2 separate regions of the Homo sapiens genome follow, and region 1 is linked to region 2. The links are contacts of gene promoters, found by promoter capture Hi-C in blood cells and fetal thymus (Javierre and others, 2016). All regions are on one chromosome and are shown on one strand. Each heading gives the region's core, a stretch centred on a gene start or on the middle of the fragment in contact. The rest is flanking DNA. Distances are from core to core; before and after follow the strand shown.

Region 1 (5,207 bases), core at 255-2,754, 1.4 Mb before region 2:
TACTTGGAAGCCTGAGGCAGGAGGATCAGTTAAGCCCAGGAAGTTGAGGCTGCAGTGAGCCATGCACGACTGCACTCCAGCCTGAGTGACGCAGCAAAACCCTGCCTCAAGCCAAAAAAAAAAAAAAAAAAAAAAAGACACATGCAACCGTATGTTCATTGTAGTGCCATTCACGATAGCAAGGACATGAAATCAACCTAAGTGCCCATCAACAGTGGACTGGATAAAGAAAATGTGGTACATATACACCATGGAATATAATGCAGCCATAAAAATAAGGAAATTATACTCTTTGTAGCAACATGGATGGAACTGGAGCCATTATCCTATGCAACCTAATGCCAAGAACAGAAAACCAAATACACATGTTCTCACTTATAAGTAGGAGCTAAACATTGAATATATGATGGTAAACGTGGAAACAACAGGCATTGAGGATCATTAGATGAGGAAAGGGGGAGACGGACAGAGGGGCATGGGTTGAAAAAGCACCTGTTGAGTACTATGCTTACATCCTGTTGGGATCATTGGGACCCCTAACCTCGATATACCCTAAGGTTTTGCGTTTTGTATTTTGAAACTGGTAAGATCAAACTTTTTTCCCAATTTTTTTTTTTTTTTTTTAGATCGAGTCTCACTCTGTCGCCCAGGCTGGAGTGCAATGGTGTGATCTCGACTCACTGCAACCTCCGCCTCCAGGATTCAAGCGATTCTCCTACCTCAGCCTCCTGAGTAGCTGGGATTACAGGCATGTGCCACCACGCCCGGCTAATTTTGTATTTTTAATATAGACAGGGTTTCTCCACGTTGGTCAGGTTGGTCTCGAACTCCCGACCTCAGGTGATCTGCCCGCCTCGGCCTCCCAAAGTGCTGGAATTACAGGCATGAGCCACCACGCCCAGCCATCCCAGTGTTTTAAATAGCAATTTATATTTCCTCTTCATGAATTGTCTGTTAAAGCAGTTGTTGGCGGGAATCAAGTTTTGTTCTTTCAATGTGCTTCGGGCCTTAGAAATGGTGTTTGTTACTTAGTTGACTCTCACAAAGCTTTGAATACATATAGATAGAAACCTAGCCGTAATTGTTTAGAATCTTGAGAGAGTAAGCCACTAACACCGCACAACTGTGTGCCATTTTACAACTTACAGAGAATATTCATGAGTATTAGTGCATTTTAATACAACTACTGTGCATTGTTGCTTTCAGCATTTTACTATGCGGAGCAGTCTTGAGTAACTGAGGTCTGAGAAGGATAAATGGTGAAAATTCAAGGAATTTCTCCTAGAAACGGAGGAATTCGGCTTCCCTAAAGAAAGGACATACCGACTGAAATAGTTGGTCCTCCCGTGCACCAGAGGGTGAAGCAGCAGGATGTGACGCCTCACGAAAAGTGAGCGGCTTGCTGGACTACACTTCCCAGAAGGTTTCGTTGGCCCTCGCACTACGCAATCACCCAGAACGCTCAGCGGCCGAAAACTTCAGGTTCCAGGCTGCTGTGCGGCTAAATGCGACTCCATCTCCCCCGACCCAAGCGCGTAATGGCCGCTGGCTATCTTGGGGGAGCCAGCTGTTGGACTATGCCCCACTGCCAGGAAACAGGCGCCGGAAGGTTCTCTGACAAGATCTCGCTTTCCTAGGGCGGTGAAGGCGTTCAAAGGTCGGGAAGGGGCGCTGGGAGAAGCGGGGCAGCGCTGAGCCATGCTCGCGAACTGTGGGTCTGTCTGTGAAGAGACCCAGTTTCGTGGGACCACGGTGGCGCCTGCGCTGGGAGGTGAGCTTGTGACAGAGCGAAAACTACAATTCCCAGCATTCCTGTGGTGCCAGAACTACCTTGCCCGAAAGCCTGTGCGAGATTTACCCCGTCTTCCGCCTCCCTCCCACCGGAAAACTCTGAGGACATGAATAGTCGCCAGGCTTGGCGGCTCTTTCTCTCCCAAGGCAGAGGAGATCGTTGGGTTTCAAGGCCCCGCGGGCATTTCTCGCCGGCCCTGCGGAGAGGTGAGGCAAGGCGTCGTGTCATAGATGCCTGAGTGCTCTCTAGGGAGACGATGCCCGTGGGGTCGCGCCTGCTCGAGCGAACGGGAAGAGAAGGTGCCACGCCCTCCTCCCGGATTCACGCCTTGTGCTGGGCGACGCCGCTGCCTGCTGCCCCGACTTGCCCAGCTCGCCCCAAGGGGCGAGGACTGAGGAAAGCACTGCCTTTCTGTTCTTAAAGCGAACCTTTGAAGGCCTGGGCTTCGCGCCCGGCTTCTTTCTCAGCCGTTGTTTCCGTTTTTTGGTGACAAGAGGCTAGTAATCTCGTCAGGAGCCAACGTAAGGTAATCTGTGTTTGAGGGTGTCCTGTTTTCTTTTGTGGCCTGATCAAATTTTGATTTTGTTTTTTTAGGTGCTGGCCTCGAGCCCAGGTTTTTGGTAGACAGCATCATAAATTTCAGGCCACGTCTGCCTTATTCTCACTGGAATTCTCAGTACATTTCAGTCACATTGTAGACTTTGGGAAAATAAGTGAATACTGGAACCCACAAGTTTCCAACCTGTTGGCACCCCTGTTAACAGGGTGTCCTGAAGACATCTAACTTTATTCAGAGAAATGTTTCTAGGGCTAGGTTTTTGTTGTCGTCGTTGTTTTTCACCCCCAGTTTTTTAACTTCCCTCCCAGTTTTTAAACCGTTTTAAGGTTGTCCACAAAATAGGCGAATAGGCACCTCTTATCTCTGTTCACCTTCTTGAATCTTCAGTGCCAGGTACGCTGAGCCATTCGGTACCCAAACACTTCTACGCTGTTATTTATACTCCATATTGTTACTTGTGCTATTTTGCTCATTGTTTCATTTTAATCCACACCAGTAACAGCTGCAGTCAAAACTGCAGTTGTTGATCCTCCATCTGTGAGATTGCTGTTTAGCTGCCAGGGTCATTCACAAGGTCTCTTTTGTTAGGTATTTGAGTGTTTAGCATACATACACATTATGATGGATTTTACAAAAAGGAGGTAGCACTTTTGAACTCCAGGAAGTCATCCAGCTGCCATCTTTGTTGACTTTTACATATCCAAATGAAAACAAAATTAAATGTTCTTAGAGAATGAACTTTGAAGTGTATATCATACTGGGAAATAAATGACCATAAGTACATGTTAATGTTTTAACATAAAAGTTATCCCACTTGAATCTGAGTGTTCTTGGAGAAACCTTAAATCTCTTCTTACAACTAGTAGGATTTGTGTCCTTCCTCACTAAACAAATATTGAATGTTTATTTTATACAAGTAGTTTAAACTTGCCTAATAATGTCAATAATCAAGGGATTTGAAAACCTTGACCTCTGACCAATGGAAGGACCTTAGTTATTCTAGTGCAACTAGTGTAGCACGTTAGTAGACCAGCATGTAAGAATATATGCTGTTAATGCCTGTTCTTTTGAATTCCTGACAGAAAAGTAACTGGCTATACACTGAAGTGTTTCAGCTGTAAAATTAGCAGTAAATTAATATAAAACTTGCAGCTTAAATTTAATGGGACAACACTTTACATGTTTGCTTGGTTGTTTTTTCAAAAGTAAAATTTGACCTTTTCCAGCAAAGAGGAGCTTGGTGCAAGATAGGCCAGAGTTCCAATCCACAATCTATGACTTAGTAGTTTTGTGAAACTGGTTAAACCTTTAAACTCTTGAGTTTGTATCTCGCTATTACGAACAAACAAATCCACAAGATAGGTATCAAAGAAACAAAAGTAGTAACAATGAAAGGAAAGGTTTGGGGTTTTGTACAGATGTTTAAGTCTGTACAAAACTCTTCAAATTATTAAGGATCTGTTATTCCACTTTGAGCTGGAAACACTGATTCTGGGCACTTCATCTCCCCTACCTATTAATATGGCTGCAAAGACTTACTTATTTTTATTTTTTATTTTTTTGAGACAGGGTCTCTGTCACTCAGGCTGGTGTGCCTTGGCGCCATCTCGGCTCCCTGCAGCCTGTGCCTCCCAGGCTCAGGTGATCCTCCCACTTCAGCCTCCCAAGTAGCTGGGACTACAGGCACACACCACCATGCCCAGCTAGTTTTTGTAATTTGTGTAGGGACAGAATCTTCCCACGTTGCCCAGGCTGATCTCAAACTCCTAGGCTCAAGCAATCCGCCTGCCTTGGCTTCCCAAAGTGCTAGGATTACAGGCATAAGCCACTGCACCCGGCCTGTAAAGACATTCTTAATGAGTGCTTATGCACTGAACTGCCCATGACACAGTTGGAATAGTGATTATGACACCCTACTATGAATATCCAATGGTTTTTCCAGTTCCTTATGGCTTCCAAAGTGGAGTGAAACCCAAAGTTCTACTGCCAGTGGGTGTCAATACCTACCTCATAGGATTGGGAGGACTAAGCAAAATATTATGTGAATATTTGAGCACATATAAGGAATAATGTTTTACATATCCTTCTGTATTCTCAGCTCTCCTTAACCCCATAATAAATAGAAGCCAAGAGAATAGCAAAGGCAGCCCATGCCTAGATTTTGCTGATTTCATTCATCCTGTCTGGATAACTTCTCTCAGATTTAATATAGTTCTACCATCATCCAAATAGCCATTCTTGATCCTTTATTCTCAAGGAGGGCCAAATGCTTCTCCTTTGTATTATTCATCATTGTGTATACATAATGCCAAGCACAGTGCCTTTCATTCAGCAAGTATCTATGGAGCATCCAGAATTGTGTAGGCATTGGGGATTCAGTAGTGAGCAAGAACAGATGTGGTCCCTGCTCTCAAGGACTGTATAGTTTAGTGCAGGGGTTGACAAACTTTCTGTAAAGAGCCTAATAAATATTTCAGGCTTTGTAGGCTGTAAGGTCAGTCACAACTATTTGCTTTGCCACTGTAGCATGAAAGTAGCCATAGATTAATCCATAAATGAATGAGCTGTGTTCTAATAAAACTATCTAGTTCTAATGAATAAAACTAGAAAAACAGGCGGTGGTAGTCTATGGGCTATAGTTGGCTGACTGCTGGTCTCTTGGGGAGACAACTGAGAGTCACATAAATGTGTAAATTATGAGAGGGTTTGCAAAAGAATCCTGTGCAGTACTATGAAAAACCATCATGAGAGAGACATAACCTAAAGGAGTCATCAGGCTTTCCAGAGGAAGAAACATTCAGACTGAGCTCTGAAGGATAAACATGAGCAGGCAAAGAAAAGGAGAGCTTTCTGAAC
Region 2 (5,061 bases), core at 22-2,521:
AGGACAGGATAGAAAGGGAAAAAGCGTAACTTTACAGTGGAGAAACGTGACAACCCTCAGGTTGGTGATCAAGATTGATATTGTTGGGGGTCAGTTATGTTGATATTATGTATAATTGACAGGATGTGTGGAGAACGGCACTCTGTATCTGTGGTCTTTCTTCCCAAAACACATAGCCTTAGTTTTATTTTGGGAAAAACATTAGGGAGACTAAATTGAGGGCTTCTGAAAATAGGATCATTCCATAAAATATCTGATCTTCAAAACTGTTAAAGTAATCAAGAACAAAGAAAGTTTAGGAAACCAGTACAAACCAGCGGACCCTAAGGAAAAATAACAGTTAAATGCAGTATCCTGGATGGAACCCTGAAACAGAGGAAGGAGAAAAAAACTAATAAATTTCAAATACATTATAGAGTTTGGTTAATAACAATTTATCAATATTAGATCATTATTTATGACAAGTGCACCATAGTAATATAAGATAATAATAGGAGAAACCGGAGGTGAGGAATACACAGACTCTACTATCTTCATGATTTTTCTATAAATCTAATACTATTCTAAAATTTATACATGTATCTGTAGGTATATTATAGATATTTACATAAAATACTACACAGCTAAAAATGGGGATTTTGATAGGTGGTTTCTAGAGAATGAATGAGTGAACAATAGCGATATGGTTTGGCTCCATGTCCCCACTCAAATCTCATGTTGAATTGTAATCCCTAATGTTGGGGGAGGGACCTAGTGGGAGGTGCTTGTATCACGGGGGTAGATTTCCCCCTTCCTGTTCTCGTGATAGTGAGTTCTCTGAAGATCTGGTTGTTTGAAAGTGTGTAGCACTTCCCCATTTGCTCTCTCTCTCTCCTTCCTCCATGTGGAGACGTGCTTGCTTCCCCTTCACCCTTCTGCCATGATTGTAAGTTTTCTGAGGCCTGCCCCGCCATGCCACCTGTACAGCCTGCAGAACTGTGAGTCAATTAAACCTCTTCCTTCATAAATTACCCAGTCTCAGGTAGTTCTTTATAGGAGTGTGAGAACTGGCTAATACAAATAGCAAGTACTGGATAAAGACTCTACTCAGGATCAGATTGGTCAGCAATCTGACTATTCTTCAATGCTGTACAGCCCTACTTTGCTTATACCTGGACTTACCTTCAGAAAATAATAACATTCCATTAGGTTAGTGCAAAAGTAATTGCAGTTTTTGCCATTAAAAGTAATGGCAAATATTTTAGTTAAAGACCTTTAAGTATTCATATGCAACCAAACTTAAATTATGAACAATATAGTGTCAAAAATTATCTTTTTTCTTACATATAGTTAAATATAAATGCTCTTGGATCCAGCACAAAATTCTTCTTTCTTTACTTATATGTTCAGGAGCATTAGGTGCATTAAAAAACTGACTTACCTCCCATCGTCCTAACCCAACTCGAAATGAATGATAGACTAAGGGTATATAAGATATAGAAATTTAATTATATTAAACACGCACACACACAAAAAGAGAGAGAGACAAAGAGAGGGAGAGAGAGAGAGAGGGAGAGAAAGAGAGAGAGAGAGAACTAGAACTGGGAGCTTTGAGGGAAAAACAACAGCCACAGAAGATTTAAGTCTCAATAAACAGTTTTATATGCAATTTCCGCAAACATATTTTCATTTGCTATAAAACAGCAAACAGCTTGGGAGGAGAAGCCAGAAATATGCACAGAGAAAGCAAAATAGTGTTAAATAAATACTGGCTTGCAAAAAAGAAATTGCAGGCTATATTGAAATATGCTTATCTTACGGTACTTCAAAATGTAATAAATTTCTCTGACAAACAATAATTTAGTTTGAATTTAAAACAAATTCCCCTTTTGTCCTAAGAAAATACAATGTTAGACTTTGAAAGATGAATGGTTGTTTTTGCTCAGATATTGGTTATTAGCCACATAACTATGCCCTGGTTAGGCTACTTAGATTTTATAGTTGTACTGAGAGAAATTTAGTTAAAGCAATTGTTTGAAAGTTAAGCAAAGATGTCTGAAAAAAGAGAGATGTTAAAACTTATAAGTGAAAGTTAATGCAATTTTCAGTATAAGAAAAAAAAGATTTCAAGGGAAAAACTTGTTTTTTTTTTTTTTGGACAGGGGCTAAAGTGAAACATAGCATGTGTATAATATTTGAATAATTACTTTTATTAGTGTTTGACTTAATACTCATAAAGCTCAAAGCATTTAAGGTTATGAATCAAAAATCAATGAAATCCAAAGAAAGAGTAAATAATCTTGTGCCTGTTCCTTGTTCTATACCAGAATAGAGTAAGATTATATATATATACACACACACACACATACATATGTATAATTTTTTACACATATATATACACATATATGTACATTACACAAAAATATTCACACACGCACCTATGTTCCTAGGGCAGAGAGCGCCAGTGGCTGTTTATTTTGCTTATAGAAATTAGAAAGAATGTGGCTGCTTATTCTTTAAACATCCACTAAATACCTTTATAAAGAAGACATTATTCTTTAAGAATACAGAAATGAAGATTTCTCATAACCTCTTTCTTCATGAGCTTATGGCCCAACAAAGAATATAGAAGAAAATAAAAAATTATAATAGTCTTTCTAGAAAGACTATTGTACCAAATATTTTATTTATGTTTCCCACTGTTCCAGAAAGAATATAAGAAAATTAATAATAATAATAATAATATGACCTGAAAATGGAACAACATGCAATTATGTTCACTGTAACAATTCAGTAACTTAAAAATATTAACAACTTAAATTCCCAGCAAAGGGAATCATTTGAATTAATAATAAAAAATACAGCTAGATATTAAAATATTCTTCACTGCCTTGGAAGTATTTTCATGGAATTATTTTCATAATATAATTAAGAGAAAAACAATACCTAATATAAATATTTTTCAGGAAAAATAATATGCATATAATTATTTAGATTATATATGTATATGTATAATCTCTCTCCACATATACACATATAAACATGCATTATATGTATGCACATAAACACACAAAAAAGAAATAACAGCTGTTTTTGTGATAATGTTTATGACTCAGGGAGAAACAACTGATATAATTAGTTATCATATGTAAATATTTTTTATTTTTGTGTATCCAATTATTTCTACATGTAAATATAAACAAATATAAATCTATATTCTTCTTTTCAGAGAGGGTCAATTTATAGGTTTCTATTTTTATAAGTATGCATTACTTTAAATGATTTTTAGGTGATTTCTATTTCTGACAGTCTGGTGGATTAGATGCTGATGGAAAAGAAGTGAAAGTACATAAAATCTAAAGCATACATTTTTCAATTATTTAAATTTCTTACATATTTACAGGTTAAAAAATATAAATTTTACTCAAAATGTGAACTGTGGAAACTCTTAATTCCACCTTTGACCACATTAAATAACTTTCACTCCCCACATACACAGCTTTTGGATTTTTTTTGTGTGCATCTGCATCCTTCTTGTCATTTATTTATACAAATACAAAAAAAAATCTACCTTTTAATTTTCCTCCTTATTTAGACAAAATATATCATCCTATATATACTGTTATAAACTTCATTTTCTTCCCTAATAAATTCTGGGGGCTTTCCATATTGCTACATAAAATCCTTCTCCATTCTTTTCATGCATGGTTTTTCATCATGTGTATGGAATCCCATGATTTAACAATCCTCCAATATTTGACTATTTTATTACATTTTTGCAAAGAATAACATTGTTCATTTGCCATTTTGTATGTGTTAAGGTATATCTACTTTATAAATTCTATAAATTAGAAATGCGGGATCAAAGAATTGTTTTGTATATATTGCTACCTGGCTAGTAATGTTCTATCTCCAATATAACAACTGAAAATTGCGTTTCAGTTTACTGTTATTTTGCTTTCATTTGAAAGATAATTTTTTGAAGTGTGTATTTTTTTAATTTTTAATTTTAACTTTAATTTTTACTTTTACACATCCTGTACGTGTGCAGGATGTGCAGGTTTGCTACACAGGTAAAAGTGTGCCATGGTGGTTTACTGCACCTATCAACCCATCATCTAGGTATTAAGCCCAGCATGCATTAGCTGTTTTTCCTAACACTCTCCCACCCCCAACCCCACCCCTCCGACAGGTCCCAATGTGTGATGTTCCTCTCCCTGTGCCCATGTGATCTCATTGTTCAGCTCCCACTTACATGTGAGAAGATGTGGTGTTTGGTTTTCTGTTCCTGTGTTAGTTTGCTGAGGATAATGGCTCCCAGCTTCATCCACATCCCTGCAAAGGGCATGATCTCATTTATTTTTATGGCTGCATAGTATTCCATGTCAAGGAACAACAGACGCTGGTGAGGTTGTGGAGAAATAGGAATGCTTTTACACTGTTGGTGGGAATGTAAATTAGTTCAACCATTGTGGAAGATGGTGTGACGATTCCTCAAGGATCTAGAACCACAAACACCATATGACCCAGCAATTCCATTACTGGATATATACCCCTAAGAAATATAAATCATTCTATTACAAAGATGTATGCATATGTATGTTCATTGCAGCACTATTCACAATAGCAAAGACAAGGAATCAACCTAAATGCCTATCAATAATAGACTGGATAAAGAAAATGTGGTATATATATACCATGAAAGATAATTTTTATAGCTGAACTGCCTACCCAAGATTGACTGTCTTATAAAAAGACCTTTGTAAAGTTGGAACCCATCATTATGGGATCCTACCATCAGAATAATGCCAAACAGAAATCCCATCACACAAAATAAATCAAGAAAAGTTGTATGTATTATTTTGGGCACTGGACAAAAGCTAAACAAAATCTCTCCAGAGACCTTACAATAGCCAGCCAGCTTTCACAAAGCTTTGCAAATACATTTAAGATCATCCTGTATAGTATAAAATAAACCCTCAGTAAAGATTCAATTTAAGGAGGCCTTAGGTTGCTAATATTCCAAACATATTGCAAAATTAAACACATTCTCTCTAGAGAAAGCACTTTCAACCCAGACCT

The links. The method cuts DNA at HindIII sites, captures the fragments that hold promoters and counts their contacts. A CHiCAGO score of 5 or more calls a contact.
Region 1: a contact is called between the fragment with the promoter of CCDC90B here and a fragment that was not itself captured in region 2, in 3 of 17 cell types (naive CD4 T cells, non-activated CD4 T cells and naive CD8 T cells). The highest score is 8.3, in naive CD4 T cells.

What each region holds. Positions count from the first base shown.
Region 1 is chr11:83,282,664-83,287,870 of GRCh38, reverse strand. CCDC90B (coiled-coil domain containing 90B) reads left to right here and starts at 1,504. Exons shown (of 9, transcript NM_021825.5): 1 at 1,504-1,998. The coding sequence starts at 1,899. It overlaps CCDC90B-AS1 (CCDC90B antisense RNA 1), which reads right to left and starts at 1,751. Exons shown (of 3, transcript NR_186344.1): 1 at 1,324-1,751. RefSeq lists enhancers at 1,467-2,116, 1,539-2,134, 2,167-2,246, 2,135-2,731. The HindIII fragment of the contact is 4,800 bases long and covers 1,050-5,207 here.
Region 2 is chr11:81,863,742-81,868,802 of GRCh38, reverse strand. No RefSeq gene overlaps it. Among named protein-coding and RNA genes, the nearest start is that of MIR4300, 25 kb to the left of the region's middle. The HindIII fragment of the contact is 7,284 bases long and covers 1-4,913 here.